2 separate regions of the Homo sapiens genome follow, and region 2 is linked to region 1. The links are contacts of gene promoters, found by promoter capture Hi-C in blood cells and fetal thymus (Javierre and others, 2016). All regions are on one chromosome and are shown on one strand. The core of a region is centred on a gene start or on the middle of the fragment in contact, and the rest is flanking DNA. Distances in the headings are between cores, read along the strand shown. Region 1 holds the start of EIF1 (eukaryotic translation initiation factor 1). Region 2 overlaps LOC105371777 (a long non-coding RNA gene).

Region 1 (7,793 bases), core at 3,592-6,091:
TCGGAGGCTCTCTCTCTCCCTTCCCCTCTGGGAAACTGGTATAATCTATATAGTGGTTTCATAACTTTACATTTTTATCCGGCTGTACATAGTCTCCTCTTTAAATCCCCTCAACAGCCTATGAGAAGGGCATTATTGTCTCTGTCGTACAGAGGAGAAAATGCAGGCTGGGAGGGGCTAAGTCGCCCAGGCAACAAGATGGAGATGATATTCAGATACAGACACTCCAGAGCCTGTGCTTTGTACCCTGCCCTTGGCTGCCCAGGTGACAGCATCTCAAAGCCAGGAGCACACTAATAAAGAAGCCAGCATTAACAGCAGGCATGCATGCCACTTTCAAACTAATTACTCCTGCCTCCATGATTACTCCTCAGGCTCCTGGGGCTGGGGTAACCTCCCACACTGGAAGGTAGACTTCGGAAGACCCTTCTGGAAATGCTCCCAACTTGGGAAAACAGCGCTTCAGACTTCAGACCCAGGAAGAGATCACCCAGTGCTCCTTTTATGGGGCATACAACTGAAGCCAAGAGGTAAACCAGGTCACCCACAAAGCTGGTGGCAAGTCAAGAACTGAGTCTCAGGCCTGGTGCGGTGGCTCATGCTTGTAATCCCAGCACTTTGGGAGGCCGAGGTAAAGGATTACTTGAGCCTAGCAGTTCAAGACCAGCCTGGGCAACATAGTGAGACCTCATCTCTACCAAAAATTTAAAAAATTAGCTGGCTATGGTAGCACATGCCTGTAGTCCCAGCTACTCAGGAGGCTGAAACGGATCACTTGAGCCTAGGAGTTCAAGTCTGCAATAAGCTATAATGGCACCATTGCACTCCAGCCTAAGTGACAAAGCCAGACCCTGTCTCAAAAAAAAAAAAAAAAAAAGAACTGAGTCTTGGCCGGGTGTTGTGGCTCACACCTGTAATCCCAGCACTTTGGGAGGCCAAGGCGGGCGGATCATTTGAGGTCAGGAGTTCAAGACCAGCCTGGGCAATGTTGTAAAACCCCTTCTCTACCCAAAATACAAAAATTAGCTGGGCATGGTGGCACCTGCCCGTAATCTCAGTTACTTGGGAGGCTGAGGCAGAAGCATAGCTTGAACTCAGGAGGTGAAAGCTGTGGTGAGCCAAGATCGCACCACTTCACTACAGCCTGGACGACAAAGCGAGATTCTGTCTCAAAAAATATTTTAGTGTGACAAAATATTGCATGCACACTGGGAAGGACAGCTCCAATTCATTCATTCAAACTCTCTCCCAAAACCCTTTCCAGCAGAACAATGTCCGTCAGGGCAAAGTGTTGTGGGATGTCAGGGACTCCCAACAGAGGGACCCGCTGAAGCCATGGCAGAAGAACATAAATTGTGAAGATTTAATGGATATTTATTAGTTCCCCAAATTAATACTTTTATAATTTCTTACGCCTGTCTTTACTGCAATCTCTGAACATAAATTGTGAAGATTTCATGGACACTTATCACTTCCCCAATCAATACCCTTGGGATTTCCTATGCCTGTCTTTACTTTAATCTCTTAATCCTGTCATCATAAGCTGAGGAGGATGTATGTAGCCTCAGGACCGTGATGATTGCATTAACTGCACAAATTGTTTGTAGAGCTTGTGTGTTTGAACAATATGAAATCTGGGCACCTTGAAAAAAGAACAGGATAACAGCAATGTTCAGGGAACAAAGGAGATAACTTTAAACTCTGACTGCCCGTGAGCCGGGCAGAACAGAGCCATATTTCTCTTCTTTCAAAAGCAAATGGGAGAAATATCGCTGAATTCTTTTTCTCAGCAAGGAACATCCCTGAGAAAGAGGATGCGTCCCTGAGGGAGGCCTCTGAAATGGCCACTTTGGGGACAGCTGTCTTTTACGGTCATCGCTGAGGGATGAAATAAGCCCCGGTCTCCTGTAGCGCTCCCAGGCTTATTAGGACGAGGAAATTCCCGCCTAATAAATTTTGGTCAGACCGGTTGTCTGTTCTCAAACCCTGTCTCCTGATAAGATATCATCAATGACAATGTGTGTCTGAAACTTCATTAGCAATTTTAATTTCGCCCCGGTCCTGTGGTCCTGTGGTCTTGCCCTGCCTCCATTTGCCTTGTGATATCTTATTACCTTGTGAAGCACATGATCTCTGTGACCCACACCCTATTCGTACACTCCCTCCCCTTTTGAAAATCACTAATAAAAACTCGCTGGTTTTGCGGCTTGGGGGACATCATGGAACCTGCCGACATGTGATGTCTCCCCCGGACACCCAGCTTTAAAATTTCTCTCTTTTGTACTCTGTCCCTTTATTTCTCGGACCAGCCAACACTTAAGGAAAATAGAGAAGAACCTACGTGAAATGTCGGGGGTGAATTTTGCCTGATAGTAAAGGTTCCCAAGTTGGCTGACTGGGGCCTTAGCTTCTCAAAAGGGGAAGACCATGAGACTGGGATGCCCATGACCTAGCCATGGTTCCTCCTTCCTGATGTCAAGGAAACCAAACTATTAATCAAGTTTATTTAGTAAATATAGAATCAAAACAAAGTATCAGGCCAGGCACACTGGCTCCTGCCTGTAATCCCAGCACTTTAGGAGGCCAAGGCAGGGGGACTGCTTTAAGCAGTTGAGGCTGCAGTAAGCCATGATCATGCCACTGCATTCCAGCCAGTCTGGGTGACAGAGTGAGACCTTGTCTATATATATATATATATACACATACATATATATATACATATATACACAAATACACACACACACATATATACACACACTCATATACATATATATATATATACACACACATACACATATATATATCAGGTACACCTAGCATTTCCTCCCTCAGAGTTTTTCTGAGTTTTCTGGTGGGCACATGCCCTGCCCCACAGTGGACTCCTTCCTACCCTCTGTCAGCCAGAATGCTGCCTCCCCAGAGGCCTTCTCTGACCACCCCATCTGAAGGAGCCTGGCCCTTTCACATCACCCTGTTTACCTCCTTTTTGGCACCTCTCACAATCTGTCATTATCCTTTTTTTTTTTTTTTTGAGACATAGTCTTGCTCTGTCGCCCAGGCTGGAGTGCAATGGCGCCATCTTGGCTCACTGCAGTCTCCTCTTCCCGGGTTCAAATAATTATTGTGCCTCGGCCTCCCGAGTAGCTGGGACTACAGGCACACGCCACCACGCCCAGCTAATTTTTGTATTTTTAGTAGAGACAGGGTTTCACCATATTGGCCAGGCTGGTCTCGAACTCCTGACCTCGGGTGATCCGCCCACCTCAGCCTCCCAAAGTGCTGGGATTACAGGCATAAGCCACAGCGCCCAGCCTCATTATCTTATTATTTGTTTAGTGGCTCTCTCTCCCGCTGGCCTTCAACTCCACAAGGGCAGTGACCCTGACTGTCAGGGACATAAACCAGCAGTCCATGGGCATGCATATTTTTGTTTGGCTTGCAGTGTTGTATCAAAAATTCAATTTATTCCTGTAATCCCAGCACTTTGGAAGGCCGAGGCAGGCAGATCACCTGAGGTCAGGAGTTCAAGACCAGCCTGGCCAACATGGTGAAAACCCATCTCTACTAAAAATATTTTTAAAAAACTAGCCGGGCGTGGTGGTGGATGCCTGTAACCCCAACTACTCGGGAGGCTGAGGCAGAAGAATTGCTTGAACCCAGGAGACGGAGGTTACAGTGAGCCGACACAGTGCCACTGCACTCCAGCCTCGGCGACAAAGTGAGACTCTGTCTCAAAAAAAAAATCAATTTATTGGCAATATTTAAAAATCAAGAGATTTTATGTAAACACCTGGATTTCCTGGCACTCTTGAAAAAGATCTAGCACAATGGGCTGGAGGTGAGCGGCCACTGCAGCCCGTAGTTCTTACTCCAGCCCCCAGTCCACCCCATTACATCACACTTGGCTGTTTGCACTCCTTGATCCTACTTACCTGCCTATCCCCGGAGGCCTTTGAGTCTAAAATTCCTGGTCTCTTTTCACCACTCTACTTACCCCTACAACTGAGTGTTGAAATAAATAAACTGAAAGCAAGAAAGGTTGACTGTTTTGAAGGAAATATTTCATCTAAACTCTAGGAAGGCTCTACTCCACACAAGCTGTGCCACATGAAGGACGCCCTCTGGTGCCAGAATTATTCTCGGGGGGGCCCAGAACCAGTTACTATACCTTGAACTCATGCCAATGAGCTGGGCACACTTTTTCCTTAGATGGATTAATCTAATCTAAATGAAAATTTTAGATCGGATTAACCCACTTTAGAATAAATCTAAATGGCAATCTAAATTATGCGGTTACCGTTTTGATTATATTATTGTATGTTGATTAATCAAAGTGCCGCCCTAAATCCCGCTGTGACTCCGTGGGTAGTAGGGTGGGTAGGTAGGTGGGTTTGACACAACGGGGATTTCTCGTGTTTGGGAGGCTCATCATCTAAATCCTCTCTAAGGAGTGTTCATTTACCATATGAAACTCCCCTTTTCGAGAAGACAGGGATGCAACAGGGTCAAGAAGGTGGAACGTACCAAAGGACACAGTGCGTAGGCGCGCTCGAAACCTGGGCCGGTATTCTCGGCACCCAGACACCGTCCACTCGCACTGCGCAGGCTCCGAGACAGATCAAGCTTTCCCTCCCCCTCCCAGCTCTCCTAGAGTCAAGAGGACGCCCTCCTGCCGCAGACTTCCTGCGCAAGCGCCATCCCATGTCCCCGCCTCCAAACCAATTGGAAGCGGCGCCGCCTGGGCGCTTGGGGCACGACGCTGTGGGTGGGGTCAGGACGTGAGGGCAGCGCGCTGGCGTCAGAGGCGCGGCTATATAACTAAACACAGGCACCGCCCCTCTGCCCCAGTCACTGAGCCGCCGCCGAGGATTCAGCAGCCTCCCCCTTGAGCCCCCTCGCTTCCCGACGTTCCGTTCCCCCCTGCCCGCCTTCTCCCGCCACCGCCGCCGCCGCCTTCCGCAGGCCGTTTCCACCGAGGAAAAGGAATCGTATCGTATGTCCGCTATCCAGAACCTCCACTCTTTCGGTAAGCTATGGGAAAGGTCGCGGGCCCGGGTGGGGCAGCGGGGCCTTCCGGGCCCGGAGACGTGTTCCGGGAAGTTGCCAAGCGCTCCGGGCCTTCGTAAGCTCGGGCAGGGGAAACTTGACCAGGGTCGCAGGGCAGCGGGATCAAGGCCTGGGCCCCGGGGTCGGACCCTGAGCGCGACCGGAAGGAGCAGGCGGTAGGTCAGCCCTTGGGCGGGCCCGGCGTCTCAGTGGCGCATTTACTAATGGCTCCTGGGCCTCCTCGGGCCACACCCGCCCCTCCCGTCACCATTGCGTCACGTCCGTTACGTCACCACCCGTTGTCACGGATCCGGAGGGAAAGGCGGTGCCAGCCCTAAGTGGCAAGCGGGTGCACCAATGGGGGTGGGAGGCTTAGCCCCGCCTCGGGAGCTCGGGTTCCGGCGGGTTGCATCAGCTGGGTGGGGCACCGCCTGGCAGCCCGGACTCCCCCGACATGTGATCGGCTTCCCAGGGAGGGCGGGAGGCCCGGGCGTTCCCCGAGCCTGGGGAAGCTGGCCGTCCCGGACTGACCTGCTCGGGGAGAGCCAGCAAAGGACACATTCGGCCTGGCCCAAGCCCTGACGATTTCAGTGTTGTTTTCTGCACGCGCAAAACACCTGGGGACCGAGGGGATGGCAGTGGCATCCTATCTTTGACAGCTCTGAACGAGCTTAACCTTTTTTTTCAGACCCCTTTGCTGATGCAAGTAAGGGTGATGACCTGCTTCCTGCTGGCACTGAGGATTATATCCATATAAGAATTCAACAGAGAAACGGCAGGAAGACCCTTACTACTGTCCAAGGGATCGCTGATGATTACGATAAAAAGAAACTAGTGAAGGCGTTTAAGAAAGTAGGTCTTCAGTGAGATTTTGGGAAAGTCATAATGGATTTGTCCACAAGGGGGTGCCAGCTGTGTTGTATGTATTGTTAGCGGAAGGGGTGATAAATGCGTTCATGCTCTTGCTAGGCCTAATTCGTTTTCCTTTGTGCTTGCAGAAGTTTGCCTGCAATGGTACTGTAATTGAGCATCCGGAATATGGAGAAGTAATTCAGCTACAGGGTGACCAACGCAAGAACATATGCCAGTTCCTCGTAGAGGTGAGTTCAGTCACTACTTGATTTGTGCCTCTCTGCTGGCAAATCTCAGATCCTGTCTGTTAGCTTCTGCTGGGGACATAAAAGTTGGCTTTGTAAGGCTGAGCAAAACCTCAGTTGGGTTTTAAAGTACATAGACTTATTTCTGTTTTATAGGAAAAAGCAGAAGGGACTTGTCTACCTTTGGTTTACTGTTTCTGTGGATCTACTTCACAGATGCAAATTTGAATAGCATATAGATGCATTGTAAAATAAGCCAAATGCTGGGTTGTTCCTGTATTTGTAAGGACATGAGTTTTTAAAAATGAATTTCCTGAGTATTAATACTAAAATACTGTTACATGATCAGCTCTTGATATAATTGAAGAGATTTCAGATACCTGATGAGTCTCATTCTCACACTAATTCAGAACCTTGGAAGGCACTGAGTGTTCAAAAAAGGTAGCTCTTAACTGAGGACCCTCTGTTGAACCATTGTGCGCACCCCTGGCTCTTGGGCAGTGTAGTAGCAGGAAGACAGGGTTGTTGCCATTAGAAATGGAGGCTTTAACTCTCCCTGTCCCCCATTTAAAACTTTGCCCTTTTGTCTTTTCAGATTGGACTGGCTAAGGACGATCAGCTGAAGGTTCATGGGTTTTAAGTGCTTGTGGCTCACTGAAGCTTAAGTGAGGATTTCCTTGCAATGAGTAGAATTTCCCTTCTCTCCCTTGTCACAGGTTTAAAAACCTCACAGCTTGTATAATGTAACCATTTGGGGTCCGCTTTTAACTTGGACTAGTGTAACTCCTTCATGCAATAAACTGAAAAGAGCCATGCTGTCTAGTCTTGAAGTCCCTCATTTAAACAGAGGTCAAGCAATAGGCGCCTGGCAGTGTCAAGCCTGAAACCAAGCAATACCGTCATGTTTCAGCCAAGCCCAGAGCCCTAAGATTACAAACAACTATGGCCGGAACCTCCTCAGCTCTCCCTCTGCAGAGTTCCCTACCCTAAGAGAATGTTACCACCTGAACAGTCCTCGGTGAATCTGAGAGGAGAGGATGGGGTAAGGCAGAAGCACCAGCTGTACTACTAGAAGGGAGCTTTTGGTGGTAGATCCCCTGGTGTCTCCAACCTGACTAGGTGGACAGAGCTCAAAGAGGCCCTCTTACCGCTAGCGAGGTGATAGGACATCTGGCTTGCCACAAAGGTCTGTTCGACCAGACATATCCTAGCTAAGGGATGTCCAAACATCAGAATGTGAGGCCAACCTTCTATCAGAGTTAAACTTTTGACAAGGGAACAAATCTCAAACTGATCCATCAGTCATGTAGCTAGCTGTAGAGCTTGCAACTTAATAGCAGCAGCTGCCCAATGCCATGTGAAGTAACAAACTGGTTTTTGGTTTTTTTTTCCCCTTCAGTTTTAATGTTATGTGTAATGTATTTAAACCCTTATTTAAATAAAACTTGTTTTCAGAAATACCTGACTTGCAGATTATTTATATATAGTCGATCTTGTGCATATAAAGGAACCATAGAAATGGGCAGTGGAGGATTCGTCCACACCCACAGCTTCTCAACGGGCCTGAATTTGGCCAAGAAAAACCTTTATGAGCTTGTCCCTCTCTGGTCAACTGGTTTTTTGTTCGTTTGTTTTTTGAGACAGGTTTGC
Region 2 (7,793 bases), core at 2,790-5,289, 780 kb before region 1:
AATGCTGCATCCGAAGCATGGGCCAAAATATCTAGACCTCAATGAAGAGCTATAAAGGGGTGTTAGGGGATACAGCATCTAACATAGAAAGCACGCTGTCCATGGTTATTAAGTGAATGCATGGATGAACAGGAGGAGTCCAAATTATCTGTTTTAAAGAGGAAGACATTTCTTTGTGTTTTTAATCCTTCTTGTTTTTATGGTGTCTACTACCAATTAAAATGTATTGTGCCATGTTTCTTAATTAAAATAAGAAATTTGATTGCATGTTTCTGTTGGTAAATGATCATACAAGAATCATTCATGTCAGCTTTGTTCTGGGAATGAACACAGGATATGGGGTCAAGATACGTGGGGTAACTCTGTTACCAAGACCTTTAAGGAAATAGTATTATTGAATAGAAAATGGAACATTTGGGCTCTGAAGTCTTATTTCATGACATTTAAAGTGTTTATTTAGCTCTGGCTTCCTCTGCTGGAAGATTGACTTTCTTATTTGCTCCTGTAACGGATGGATATGCTGTGTGGCTGTAGAGCTCCTTCCCTCCCTCCCTCCTTTCCTTCCTTCCTTCCTTCCTTCCTTCCTTCCTTCCTTCCTTCCTTCCTTCCTCCCTCCCTCCCTCCCTCCCTGCTTGCCTTTCTCTTTCTTTCTTTCTCTCTCTCTCTTTCTTTATTCTTCCTTCCCCCCTCCCTCTCTGTCTCCCTTCCCTTTTCTTTTCTTTTTTCTTTCCTTTCCTTTCCTGTTTTCCTTCCTTCCCTCTTTCATTCCTTTCTTTCCATCCCTAGTTTTCTTTTCTTTTCTTTTCTTTTTTTTTTTTTTTTTGAGGCAGAGTCTCACTCTTGTCCCCCAGGCTGGAGTGCAGTGGTGCAATCTTGGCTCACTGCAAGCTCCACCTCCCGGGTTCACGCCATTCTCCTGCCTCAGCCTCCCGAGTAGCTGCGACTACAGGCGCCCACCACCAGACCTGGCTAATTTTTTGTATTTTTAGTAGAGATGGGGTTTCACCGTGTTAGCCAGGATGGTCTCGATCTCCTGACATCGTGACCTGCCCGCCTCAGCCTCCCAAAGTGCTGGGATTACAGGTGTGAGCCACTGTGCCCAGCCTCTATCCCCAGTTTTATATTGAATTATAATTAGATTCAAAAGAAACCTTTCAGCCAGTGGTCCTCATCCTTAAACTGCATATTGGAATCTCCTGGGAGACGTAATGTTGTAGGCTAAGGATATAATTCAGGCTATTACTGAATTATAAAGCGTGCTGTGTTCATATCCTGGAGGATGGAATTGGGTCACAGTGTTTTCAAGTCTGAAAAATCAGATGCCATAGTTCTTTGTGTTTTTAAGTTAGAGTCCATTGCCTTAAGTCCTCATGGGCATTTTAAGAAATAGATCAAAGTATTTGATGAGCTCAGGGTATGGGCACCCATACTTTCTCCTCGCTTTATCCTTCAAATTAGTCTACTTAGAATTTGCTTTTAAATTTCTGCCTAATTTTAAAAAGACAATTGTGGGACTGAGTTGCTGTCCTACCCTTTTTCTTTAATTGTTATTTGACTTCAGACTCTTCCTATAACTCATGTGTGTGTGGGTGACACTCCTCTGAAAAATGGGCCAACAGAAGGGCTTATTATTTGGGCCACTGTGGTCATGAAACCCAGGTTCACATTGATTTTATTGCAAAATTTAGATACATGCACCAGTCCACATGTTAATTTGCTTAGTATTCTTACCTTTTAAAATGTTTTTGCTTCTCAGACCCTTGTGATTTCAAGTCAGAAGTCCCTGACCTCTTAATGCTTGTTTTTTTTTTGTTTTTTTTGACACAGTCTGCATCTATCCCAGCCTCAGTCCTCAACTTCCACTGCTCTGTGTAGCATAATCCCCATGCAGTCCCACAGTTACAGTCAACAGGGCCTTTCCTCCATCTATTAGCAAACATTCCTGTTCTTAGAGCCTCAGAGAGTGAGGCAATGACAGGATCACGATTTTAACATTTCCCCTTTCCTGAAGCTTCTTTATTGGGACACTGGTGTTAAAAAGGAAAAAAAAAAACAGCTTAATTAAAAATTTTTATGTATCATGTGGAGCAGGGTTGCCTAAATGAGAAAAAGATACTTGAAATCCCAGCCTCTATTTTCATCAGTCAGAGGAATTCAGAGGAGGCTCAGGAAAATTGTGAGGACAGAGGGCTGTGTCCTGAGTCCCTAGCCTACAATCCCTGTGTCCATCAGTCAAGGAGGGCAGCCTCATCACAGCTGCAGGCTCTCCTGCATATCTTTGTCAATTGTCGACCGACTAATTCTATTCAGGTTGCCTTTTGTAGGGGTCAGCAGAGTAGGATCCTGGCAATTTCATATGATTAAAACTATTTTGAACAAGACCCTTGGCTAGGATCTGTTTCAAACGATGAAGAAAGTTCTTTTTTCATTGTTACAGGAATTGTGTTTAATGAGATGTAGAAGGCTGTAGTGTAAAACTTTTTTTTAAATGGGGTTAGGAGGTTTAAGGGAGATAATTGAAAACCTGGTTATCTCTTGTTTTAGTAGTGGTTCTTTGCTGCTGTACATGTAACACAAACTACTTGAATTTCAAGATGCTACCATCCCTTGGGCATGAATTATGAATGTTTGATATTCCTTGATTCCATCACAGGACTTGTATGGTTGATCTTTGTCCAACCCGAGCCTTGGATCAGGAAAAAGGATGAGTTCGGGTTTATGTTGCCCTATAGCCAGCAGGGGGTGTTCGTGGCCTTCCTATTCCAAAAGGCCGCAGCACCCTCTCCCAGGCTCCGGGTGAAACTGGTTTGTGAGTCACCATTACCATCCTTCTTTCTCTGTTCAAATTGGCATTTTACCAAGAACAGCATTACTTCTGAGTGAGCAACAGCTGACCAATTATCTTGAAAAATATTTGGGAAGCTATACAATTTTAAAAGTGAAAAGCAAAATATATCTTCTATTTTTAACTTGTTCCCTAAACATGAATTACCTGGGGGAAAAGCAGATGCTTTTCAATCTTTTAAATGATTGCACCTATTCTAAACCATCCAGGTGTTTTTGAAATGACCCACAGTCATCTTTAATAGCATGCGAAGGGGCCAAGGCCCTCTCAACTTTAGATTTAATAGCCTGCCCCCTTCAATTGTCAGAGATATTGACAGAGATAGGCCTGACTGTTCTGCTGTAATTTCAACTCATTTTCTCCTGCTCTAATATCTATAGTACGGGATGGACTTTTTTTTTTTCTTTTCTGTAGAGGCCAGGTCATAAATATTTAGGCTGTGTGGGCTGGAGAGACTGTTGCAACTACTCAACTCTGCTGTCCTTGTGCAAGAGCAGCTGTAGACAATATGCAAACAAACGTTCATGACTGTGTCCTAATAAACTTTATTTGTAATTTGGCCACGCCCTATCTTATTGATAGCCCTCCAAAACGTCAGTATCTTCCATATATCTGTTATTTTATGTTGTTTATAAACTCAAACTCTTCTCCGATTAAGAGGAAAATAATCGAATCTGAAAGTCCCTCAGGTTCAACTCCTTTCCCAATGCCTGGTCCCCCTTATAACACTCTTGACAAGCATCTTTGCCCACTGCTCGGAACTCTCATGCTTTGTGTCTTCCCTGCAACACAAGCAGTGGCCCCGAAGAGCAGACAGCGTGATACAAATGCACAGAAGTTTTTAAGGAGATAGCACAACAATTTAGAAACTAAGGCTGCTGGAATGATGAGCTTTTAATCTTTTCATTCATCGCAGGGTTTAATCCATATTTGAAAAGAAAGATGCCACAGTATAAAGCTGACAGGCACTGACTGGCCTGAAATATCTCAGGAAAATCTGGTTTCAGATTTTTCTAGGAGTTGATCCAAGAACATTTTTCTTTCTGCCTTTTGATCTGTTGAAAGATCCACAAGATACTTGGATGCCTTGAAGACATAAATGCCAGTACAGAAATAAACTCTGACGAGTTGTCTTGTAAAGGGAGCCAGCTCTTAGAGAAGGGATCATTGTAAGGGTAGGAACTGAAACTTTTTTGTCTACTACCTGACATTCTCAAACCCTTCTTTCCTTTGTACTTTTTCTGTGAACAGATGGTTTCGTCCAGCTTGGAGTGGGTTTAGGGGAGACTGAGAAAACAAGACGGCTGCCTGCAGTTTTAGTCTCTCTTTACCCATCTTAAACTTTTTCTTCCCCTCTCCATTTTTGAGAGCAAGAGGTTACATGCTCCCTTTCCTCCTGTAGAAGAAACATTTAGCTGGGGCTGACACAATGGCGAGGACATGAGAAATGACCACAGGAGAAGCCCTGGAGGCAGAAGACTAGGTCTTTGCCCCTTTTACAGTGAGATAGTTTTATATAAATATCAGAGGTTACTGGAGGCACCCAAACAAAATTGAGGACAGGAAGCAAATATCTGAGAGGCTCCCAAACCTCGATGTACTGTGGGACCCAAACGAGCACGTGAATCCCTTCTAGATATCCTTTGGATCCTTTAAGAGTAGCACAGGCGGGGCGCGACGTTTCACGGCTGTAATCCCAACACTTTGGGAGGCCGAGGCGGGCGGATCACGGGGTCAAGAGATCGAGACCATCCTGGCCTACGTGGTGAAACCCCGTCTCTACTAAAGATACAAAAATTAGCTAGGCATGGTGTCATGTGCCTGTAGTCCCAGCTACTCGGGAGGCTGAGGCAGGAGAATTGCTTGAACCTGGGAGGCAGAGGTTGCAGCGAGCCGAGATCGTGACACTGCACTCCAGCCTGGCGACAGAGCGAAACTCTGTCTCAAACAAACAAATAAATAAATAAATAAAGAGTAGCAGATACCACTTATAAAGTTTTATTATAAAGAATTATTGGAGTTGGCTATGAATTCTCCTCCTTACTCACGTCTGGTGGGGCAAAACGGGGAGGATCAGATACTATGAAGACAAAGATACTGGAAATAGATCAAAGCCTTGAATTCCCAGCCCCAGACTCTACCCACCATGATCCCTACCTGCAGGGGTCTGGGTTCCTCTTGCCCAGCCTGCTCAATCTCTGACCCCCTAGCATGGGTCTCTGGCTTGCTCAGAGGTGCAGGCTCCCAGCTCCCCTTCTCCAGTCGCCTGAAGACTCAGTGGTTCCTCTCTGAAGGATGTAGTTTTAACCTTTGTTTGCTGTAAAAACATATAGCAGGCAAGTGCTTGTCACAAGGGGACTTATTTCTTCCTTCTGCTTCATGTGATGGGGAGGGTCCGGCTGTGGATATCTGCTGTGCTAAGACAGCCACAGTGTGGTCTAAGACAGAGCCTGGTCTTGGCCACTCTGATATCTGGCTGACTGAGAGACAGTGTGGATGGGTGGAAGAGGGCAGTCTTGCATGCTGTCATCTCCTCCCTAGGGCCCTATTGACCTTTGGTGGATCCACACTTGAGGTGTGGACAGAGGAGAGAGACAGAGAATGCCTTGTCTCCTGTAGAAAGGCCTCTTCTGGAAACTTCCAAGCACCTAACATTGTAGGAGGAGAATAGGAGACTGAGAGAGAAATATAAAAAGCCATGTTCCCACAGTAAGCTCTCCTACCACTGGCTCAGCCTCCTGTCCATTTGGGAATGATTAGAGATGCTACCTCCTTCCTCAGGGCTGCCAACTACAAGTGCGCAGCCTCCCCCAACTCTTAGCACTGTAGCCAGGTGTAGTTATAAATAAACGTTGGGGTGACTTATCCTTGTGTGATGTGTGTAAGTTAGCCCTTTCTTTGATTAACTATAAATACGTAAATTAGATATTCCCTGGTTTCCCCAAACACTGGTAGTAGTGAATTTTCTTGGAATGCCCTTCTTTGGTCTGCTGGCTGATTATTATTTTCAGACGACACTAATGACGGCCCAGGTGTGATGTCTACAAAGCCCCACATTAAGGCGCTTGCGTAGCAAACCTGCCATTCAGGTAATGACGGCCGCCCTCTGGAAAAACAAGCTGAGACCATACCGGGGAAGGCCTTGGATACTTGAGAAGGGTGTGAGGCCAGTCACAGGAGTTGACTCGGTGGAACGGGGCATAAGAGTTACGGGTGGCTTTATGAAGCTTTTGTTGAGTGTGGGAGGGTGGAAAGAGCTTTACTGAAGAGACATGTTTTCTGTTTCCCAGTTCAAATCAATTTCCTTATCATGATACAAGCAAGGGTAATAATTATTAGGATTATTTACCATGATTATGGGTGACAGGAATTGCAGTTGGGCAAAGGGACTCTTTTGTATATTGTAATTTCCTTCCCTAAAGTTCTAGCTTCCTTATTTTGTCTTCCTAATAGTGACTCACACCGCAGTAGGCAGGAAGCAGGTATTTAATGACCACTTCTTCACTGGTTCTTTATTCCAACTCCATTCATTCCAATACAAATTTCTTGAAAACAAAGAATAATGACATCCATAACACAAATGAAAGCAGCCTGTCTAAGCTGATTTAATTTAGTATGGAATAGGACGCAATTTCACAGTTAGAGTTATTGTTGTTTATTTTTTTTTATTATTTTTTTTTTTTCAGATGGAGTCTCTCTCTGTCGCCCAGGCTGGAGTGCAGTGGCGCAATCTCGGCTCACTGCAAGCTCCGCCTCCCGGGTTCACGCCACTCTCCTGCCTCAGCCTCCCGAATAGCTGGGACTACAGGCACCCGCCACCATGCCTGGCTAATTTTTTGTATTTTTAGTAGAGACGGGGTTTCACCGGGTTAGCCTGGATGGTCTCCATCTCCTGACCTCGTGATCCACCCGCCTCGGCCTCCCAAAGTGCTGGGATTACAGGCATGAGCCACTGCGTCTGGCTGTTGTTTTTATTCTTAAAACTTCAGCCATCATTTGGTTCACTGAAGAAAGAAATGGCCCTTGAAGAGAATTTAGAAAGATTTTTATAAGTGAATACTCACTTATACATAAATATAGACGTATATTTTTTAGTGCTAGTTAGCTAACACAATAGACAATCCTGGACAAGTGTTTTCCATCCTCTCCTGTGAATCTGATTTGTGAACCTCTCATAGCTTTTACTACGCATGGAGTCCAGGAAAAATTTGGGACAAAGTGATCGATCTTAATTTCTAGACTTCATTCTGTCTTCTGTTCTTGGTGAGAACCTAAGAAACATCTTCCTTCCAGGCCTGACTTAGTGCTCTTGCAGGTTTAGCTTGCTTGGAGCAAGACTGTGCTAGTGGGATTCTAACGATGCCACCTTTCCTGCTGTGTTGTTTATCCTGTTCAGTTGATAGAGGACCTATTGAGACTGGTTTATAGACACGACACTCACTGTGGGGAATGCATCGAATTGCTAATTGATCAAAATCACCCATAATCTTGCGACTCGTGGATCAGCAGCCTTAGCATCCTCTGGGAGCTTGTTAGATGTCCAAAATCTTGGGCCTCAACCCAGAACAATTAGATCAGAATCTGCATTTTAACAAGATCCCCATATGATAAGTATGCACATTAAGATTTCGGAAGCACTGACATATAAGGCTTGGGACTGGGTGGTGACCTGAAACTACTGCTTCCTAGGGTGCTGGGGATGATACATGAACATTTTCACAATATTTTTTTTGTGATGAATCTCTGGATAAAATATTCTCAGCTGATGACTGTTGATGGTATTGGGTGTATCTGTGGCCTGTCCATTATTACTACCCTGTCTTTGTCTTTCTTGTCCTATCATATTCTGTGAGTGTGTGGGGAAAGAAAATTTTGATAGAAAACAGGAGTGAGTGTGGAGTCTAACTGGACAGGTTGGGGTCTGAGGTCCTCCAGGTTTGGAACTTGC

The links. The method cuts DNA at HindIII sites, captures the fragments that hold promoters and counts their contacts. A CHiCAGO score of 5 or more calls a contact.
Region 2: a contact is called between a fragment that was not itself captured here and the fragment with the promoter of EIF1 in region 1, in 5 of 17 cell types (activated CD4 T cells, non-activated CD4 T cells, naive CD8 T cells and 2 more). The highest score is 10.5, in activated CD4 T cells.

What each region holds. Positions count from the first base shown.
Region 1 is chr17:41,684,044-41,691,836 of GRCh38, forward strand. It overlaps EIF1 (eukaryotic translation initiation factor 1), which reads left to right and starts at 4,842. Exons shown (of 4, transcript NM_005801.4): 1 at 4,842-5,026; 2 at 5,735-5,898; 3 at 6,045-6,146; 4 at 6,739-7,793. The coding sequence starts at 4,996. The coding sequence ends at 6,783. RefSeq lists enhancers at 4,543-5,451, 5,437-5,526, 5,452-6,360 and a silencer at 4,667-5,056. The HindIII fragment of the contact is 2,180 bases long and covers 4,622-6,801 here.
Region 2 is chr17:40,906,726-40,914,518 of GRCh38, forward strand. All of the region lies in intron 1 of LOC105371777 (a long non-coding RNA gene), which reads left to right. Among named protein-coding and RNA genes, the nearest start is that of KRT20, 25 kb to the left of the region's middle. The HindIII fragment of the contact is 4,061 bases long and covers 2,010-6,070 here.